Regions from separate parts of the Homo sapiens genome. Here region 1 is linked to region 2. The links are contacts of gene promoters, found by promoter capture Hi-C in blood cells and fetal thymus (Javierre and others, 2016). All regions are on one chromosome and are shown on one strand. The core of a region is centred on a gene start or on the middle of the fragment in contact, and the rest is flanking DNA. Distances in the headings are between cores, read along the strand shown. Region 1 overlaps SOS2 (SOS Ras/Rho guanine nucleotide exchange factor 2). Region 2 holds the start of ARF6 (ARF GTPase 6).

Region 1 (3,085 bases), core at 92-2,591, 290 kb after region 2:
TCAGGAGGATTACCTGAAGTCAAGAGTTTGAGAACAGCCTGGCCAACATGGGGAAACCCCATCTCTACTAAAAATACAAAAATTAGCCAGGTGTGGTGGCATGCGCCTGTAGTCCCAGCTACTTAGGAGGCTGAGGCAGGAGGACTCCTTAAACCCAAGAGGCAGAGGTTGCAGTGAGCCAAGATCGCGCCACTGCACTCCAGCCTGGGTGAAAGAGCGAGATTCCGCCGCAAACAAACAAACAAAACTATTAATTGGCCCAAAGCCTTAAGTTCTAACTTCAAATCTTATTTTTTTAAGTCTGCTACACAGTCCAGGTATGGTGCCTCATGGTCAACAGAACAGCCTAGCCAATATGGTGAAACTCTGTCTCTACCAAAAAAATACCAAAATTAGCCAGGCGTGGTGGTCCACACTTGTAGTCTCAGTCACTCAAGAGGCTAAGGCAGGAGAATCGCTTTAACCCGGGAGGCGGAGGTTGCAATGAACTGAGACTGTGCCACTGCACTCCAGCCTGGGCAACAGAGTGAGACCCTGTCTCTAAATAAATAAATAAATAAAGTACGCTACACAGCTTCTAAAGATGCTTTTTGTTTTTAGTTTTATTAAGGAAGCATTATTTTATCTTAAACTGAATGAATTTTTTTTTAAGTTAAAACAATTGAGTTTGGCCCGAAAAAGGATTTCATCTAACTCTTCCAATTTCACTGAATATCTAGGATGACAGCTTTATTAATAACTGGGCCCTTTAACATTCAAATTCCACAGCAAAAATTCCTAATAAAATAGGACTGAAACAAGAAATGTGTTGAGTGCTTTTAATGAGTATCCAAAGTTCTTATAGACTGTGTATTTAATGCATACTTTATATGAATATATGAGTTAACTTTAAAAATATTCCTCTCTTGAAGTAATTTTGAGAATTAAGTATAATTTGTATTCCATGATAACAAATTTTTGACAATAGAGAAGTGGAAGATAATAAACAATGGGAATTTATAGTACAGAAGGCAGGGAGAAGATGGTAAGTTCAGTTTTAAACATGTCATATTTGAAGTGCGTTTAGGGTATCCAAGTGCATCAATTCAAGGCAGCTGGTTATATGAAAGTGTATAGATACATACACATATGTACACGGTACACAGTGCTTAAAAGAAAGTGATGGCCTGGAAATACAAATAAGAAGTCACCAGTATATAGACATGAAGTCACCCAAGGAGAGCACAGAACAGAAAAACAGGGGCTGATAACAGAAGTTGGATAATAGCTATAATAATTAAGAGACTTAGAAGAAGAAATCAGAGAAGACGAAAATTGGGAACATGTAGTATCACAGGAGCTGATATGGTTTGATTTTGTGTCCCCGTCCAAATCTCATGTTCAACTGTAATCCCCAATTTTGGAGGTGGGGCCTAGTGGGAGGTAACTGGATCATGGGGGTGGATTTCTTCCTTTAATGCTGTTCTTGTAATAGAGTTCTCAGGAGATCTAGTTGTTTAAAAGTGTGTGGCACCTCCCTGCTCCTTCCTCTTGCTTTGACCATGTGAAGACGTGCCTGCTTCCCTTTTGGCTTCCGCCATGATCGTAAGTTTCCTGAGGCCTCCCCAGCCGTGCTTCCTGTAGAGCCTGTGGAACTCTGAGCCAATTAAATCTCTTTTCTTTATAAATCACCCAGTCTCAGTCTTCTTTTTCTTTTTTTTGTTGAGACAGAGTCTCACTCTGTAGCCCAGGCTTGAGTGCAGTGTTGCAATCTCGGCTCACTGCAACCCCCACCTCCTGGGTTCAAGTGATCCTCCTGCCTCCAAGTGATCCTCCTGCCTCTGCCTCTGTAGTAGCTAGAACTACAGGTGTGCACCACCATGCCCGCTAGTGTGTGTGTGTGTGTGTGTGTGCATATATATATATATATATATATATATATATATATATATATACACACATATACACACACATATATATATATATATTTTTTGGAGACAGGGTCTTGCTCTGTCACCTAGGCTGGAGTGTAGTGGCACGATCTCGGCTCACTGCAACCTCCGCCTCCCGGGTTCAAGCAATTCTCCTGCCTCAGCCTCCCGAGTAGCTGGGATTACAGGTGCATGCCACCACACCCAGCTAATTTTTGCATTTTTTAGTAGAGACAGGGTTTCGCCAGGCTGGCAAGGCTGGTCTGGAACTCCTGACCTCAGGTGATCCGATCCACCCACCTCAGCCTCCCAAAGTGCTGGGATTACAGGCATGAGACATCACGCCCAGCCTTCAGGTATACAGGAACCAAGAGATAAGAGCAGTAACAAATACTACAGACATTAAGTATGAAATAAAAATATCCACTGGATTTGGCAATTAAGTTACTTGTCAAAGGCAATTTATATCCTGATTAAAACATACATGGTAGTGTTTTCATAAAGAATGGTAAAAAATAATATAAAGACAATTGGCTGCAAAGAAAAAATGAGAGAGGAAATGAAAAAACTTTCTTCACTCTAGTTAATTATTCTACTAGAGTGAAGAAAGGTTTGTTCATTTGTTTGCTTGTTTGTTTCAGGACTATAAGGATTTTTACCATATTCAAACGTCAAGGGGTAAAAGCCAGTTTATTTTTTATTTTTATTTTTTTTGAGACTGGGTCTCACTCTGTACCCAAGGCTGGAGTGCAGTGGCGTGATCATGACTCATTGCAGCCTTGACCTCCCAGGCTCAAGCAATTCTCCTGGCATGCCACAGGTGCACGCCACCACACTCGGCTAAGTTTTTATATTTTGTAGAGATGAGGTCTCCCTATTTTGCCCAGGCTGGTCTCAAACACCTGGGTCCAAGCAATCCTCTGACCTTAGCCTCCCAAAGTGCTGGGATTATAGGCAAGAGCCACCACGTCTGGCTGGAAAAGTCAGTTTAGATGTAGAAGTTTTACATATTTAGCCAAGTATTACCTATGCCAACATAACTTTTGTTGTTAGTGTTGAGATAGTAAAAATAAAATTTTATTTGTATCTCTCCACTTATTTTCATTTTATCTAAGTGTATTCCTGAACCAACTAACTTGCATACTCTCCCTCAATACAGTATTTATCTCCTTTAA
Region 2 (3,207 bases), core at 568-3,067:
ATTAGTCAGGCGTGGTGGCGCACGCCTTTAGTCCCAGATACTGGTGAGGCTGAGGTGGGAGGATCTCTTGAGCCTAGGAGGCTGAAGCTGCAGTGAGCTGACATCGCACCACTGCACTGCAGCCTTGGTGACAGAGCGAGACCTTGTCCCAAAAATAGAGAGGTGGGGTTGGGGATGACACTTGAACCCCAATCTTCAGACTCCTAAGCTTTTCAGTTTTATGACAGTGCTTCATCTTAAGGTAAATGGAAAGTAAATGAAATAATTGTTAGAATATTAATGTTTAATAAGTTTATTTCCGACTGAAATGACGTTTATAAGGTTATCATATAACCTATCTACCATTATCTAATATTTTAAATTTGTTTAATAAAAACAGTATGTTACCATATGCTGTTTATAGCATCTTGCTTTTTAAACAAAGATACCCATTTCCTGTTTTTCTCCCCTTGATATTTGAAGGTTTCACGTTATTTTAAGTCTAATTTTATCATTAACCATTTGATACAAAAATGTGTCCTTGGCAGGGCGCAGTGGCTCACGCCTGTAATCCCAGCATTTTGGGGGGCCGAGGCGGGTGGATCACCTGAGGTCAGGACTTCGAGACCAGCCTGGCCAACATGGTGAAACCCCGTCTCTACTAAAAATACAAAAATTAGCCGGGCGTGGTGGTGGGCGACCTAATTCCAGCTGCTCCGGAGGCTAAGGCAGAACTGCTTGAACCCAGGATGAGGAGGCTGCAGTGAGCCGAGATTGTGCAACTGGACTCCAGCCTGGGCGACAGAGTGAGACCCCGTCTCAAGAAACAAACAAAAACCAAAAAACCAAAAATGTGCCCTGAAGTCTTCCACATTGTATTATTTAAGCCTCACGTGAGTTAGCAAGGTCAGTTTACACGAGATAAACTTAGTAAGGTTAAGTGCCCAGATCCAGGCCATACAAGCGGTCGTTCTATATTCTAAATTCTATGCTTCTTAAAGTTAAGAATGGGTAGTAGTTAAGAAGCTACTACTAACAGTATGAGATAAAATGATATTTTAAAGATGAACAGATGTCGCATTCTAAAAAGGTGAAAACGCGGCAAGGCACAGGAACTCTTCATAATACTGCAGTTTTTAAGAAACATGGGCTGGTCTTGACGAGACCTATAGGCAGACAGGGCTCAAACATTCAAAAGAGCTGCAGAGTAAACTCAACTCCGGGAAAGCGCTGCACTGACTGGCAGATTCCACACGAGACACTGGCCTCCCACGTGTCTTTCAGGAAACATACAAAATTCAAGGGATAAAGGAAGCCAAGAAGGGGTTGCGAAAAAGGGAAAAAAAAAAAAAACAAAAGCGAACAGAGCTTCCCTGGGACGTTCAGGGAGCGCGGAGGGTGCGGGAAGGCTGGGGCGGGCGGAGGGAATTCGCAGAGCATCTGGCGGGCACCGAGGTCTGGGAACAGGCCTGGAGGCAGCTCGGTTCGTGGAGAGAGCGGGCTGCCCGTGGGCCCCACCCTGTAGGGCCCCCCAGTAGATCTGCTCCCTTGGTTCGGGTGGGCAGGGGAGGGCAGAGCGCAAAAGAGAAAAGCAGGGAAGGAGACGCTAGAAGAGCCACGGGTAGGCGCGAGTCAGAGTCCGAGGTTCGAGGGCTCTGGGCCGGCCGCATCTGCGAGCCCTCCGAGGCGCCGTAGCCCCGCCCCTCCGGCGCGTGGCGCCCATGACGCTAGGCGCGCGGGCCGCTCTCCTTACAGAGGTCGCTCTTGTCCGAACGGTCGGCCTCTGCTGCGCCTGCGTGGTCGGGAGGGGAAGTGAGGCGGTTTCCTCGGCGCCTTTTCCGGCAGCGGCGGCGGCAGAACTGGGAGGAGGAGTTGGAGGCCGGAGGGAGCCCGCGCTCGGGGCGGCGGCTGGAGGTAACCCCTTGGGCCGAGCTGGAAAGGCGGGCCACCTCGGTCTTCGCTCCTTTGTGGAGCTCTGGCAGTAACTCCCCTCCCTCTCTGTTTCTCTGCAGGCAGCGCACCGAGTTCCCGCGAGGATCCATGACCTGACGGGGCCCCGGAGCCGCGCTGCCTCTCGGGTGTCCTGGGTCGGTGGGGAGCCCAGTGCTCGCAGGCCGGCGGGCGGGCCGGAGGGCTGCAGTCTCCCTCGCGGTGAGAGGAAGGCGGAGGAGCGGGAACCGCGGCGGCGCTCGCGCGGCGCCTGCGGGGGGAAGGGCAGTTCCGGGCCGGGCCGCGCCTCAGCAGGGCGGCGGCTCCCAGCGCAGTCTCAGGGCCCGGGTGGCGGCGGCGACTGGAGAAATCAAGTTGTGCGGTCGGTGATGCCCGAGTGAGCGGGGGGCCTGGGCCTCTGCCCTTAGGAGGCAACTCCCACGCAGGCCGCAAAGGCGCTCTCGCGGCCGAGAGGCTTCGTTTCGGTTTCGCGGCGGCGGCGGCGTTGTTGGCTGAGGGGACCCGGGACACCTGAATGCCCCCGGCCCCGGCTCCTCCGACGCGATGGGGAAGGTGCTATCCAAAATCTTCGGGAACAAGGAAATGCGGATCCTCATGTTGGGCCTGGACGCGGCCGGCAAGACAACAATCCTGTACAAGTTGAAGCTGGGCCAGTCGGTGACCACCATTCCCACTGTGGGTTTCAACGTGGAGACGGTGACTTACAAAAATGTCAAGTTCAACGTATGGGATGTGGGCGGCCAGGACAAGATCCGGCCGCTCTGGCGGCATTACTACACTGGGACCCAAGGTCTCATCTTCGTAGTGGACTGCGCCGACCGCGACCGCATCGATGAGGCTCGCCAGGAGCTGCACCGCATTATCAATGACCGGGAGATGAGGGACGCCATAATCCTCATCTTCGCCAACAAGCAGGACCTGCCCGATGCCATGAAACCCCACGAGATCCAGGAGAAACTGGGCCTGACCCGGATTCGGGACAGGAACTGGTATGTGCAGCCCTCCTGTGCCACCTCAGGGGACGGACTCTATGAGGGGCTCACATGGTTAACCTCTAACTACAAATCTTAATGAGCATTCTCCACCCATCCCCTGGAAGGAGAGAAATCAAAAACCCATTCATAGGATTATCGCCACCATCACCTCTTTCAATTGCCACTTTCTCTTCTTTTGAATTTGAACTCTGGAGTTACTGTTCTACAGTTTGGCGGGGACGGGGCTTGGGGGTTTTCTCTTTTGTTTGTTTCCCTTTCTTTTTCCTTTTTTTTTTTTTTTTTT

What was found. The method cuts DNA at HindIII sites, captures the fragments that hold promoters and counts their contacts. A CHiCAGO score of 5 or more calls a contact.
Region 1: a contact is called between a fragment that was not itself captured here and the fragment with the promoter of ARF6 in region 2, in 1 of 17 cell types (non-activated CD4 T cells). The highest score is 5.6, in non-activated CD4 T cells.

Annotation. Positions count from the first base shown.
Region 1 is chr14:50,176,779-50,179,863 of GRCh38, forward strand. The region is part of intron 7 of SOS2 (SOS Ras/Rho guanine nucleotide exchange factor 2); the gene reads right to left. Among named protein-coding and RNA genes, the nearest start is that of SOS2, 53 kb to the right of the region's middle. The HindIII fragment of the contact is 5,834 bases long and covers 1-3,085 here.
Region 2 is chr14:49,891,265-49,894,471 of GRCh38, forward strand. It overlaps ARF6 (ARF GTPase 6), which reads left to right and starts at 1,818. Exons shown (of 2, transcript NM_001663.4): 1 at 1,818-1,893; 2 at 1,992-3,207. The coding sequence starts at 2,473. The coding sequence ends at 3,000. RefSeq lists enhancers at 1,378-1,477, 2,348-2,667, 2,698-2,747 and silencers at 1,568-1,957, 1,998-2,187. The HindIII fragment of the contact is 6,329 bases long and covers 207-3,207 here.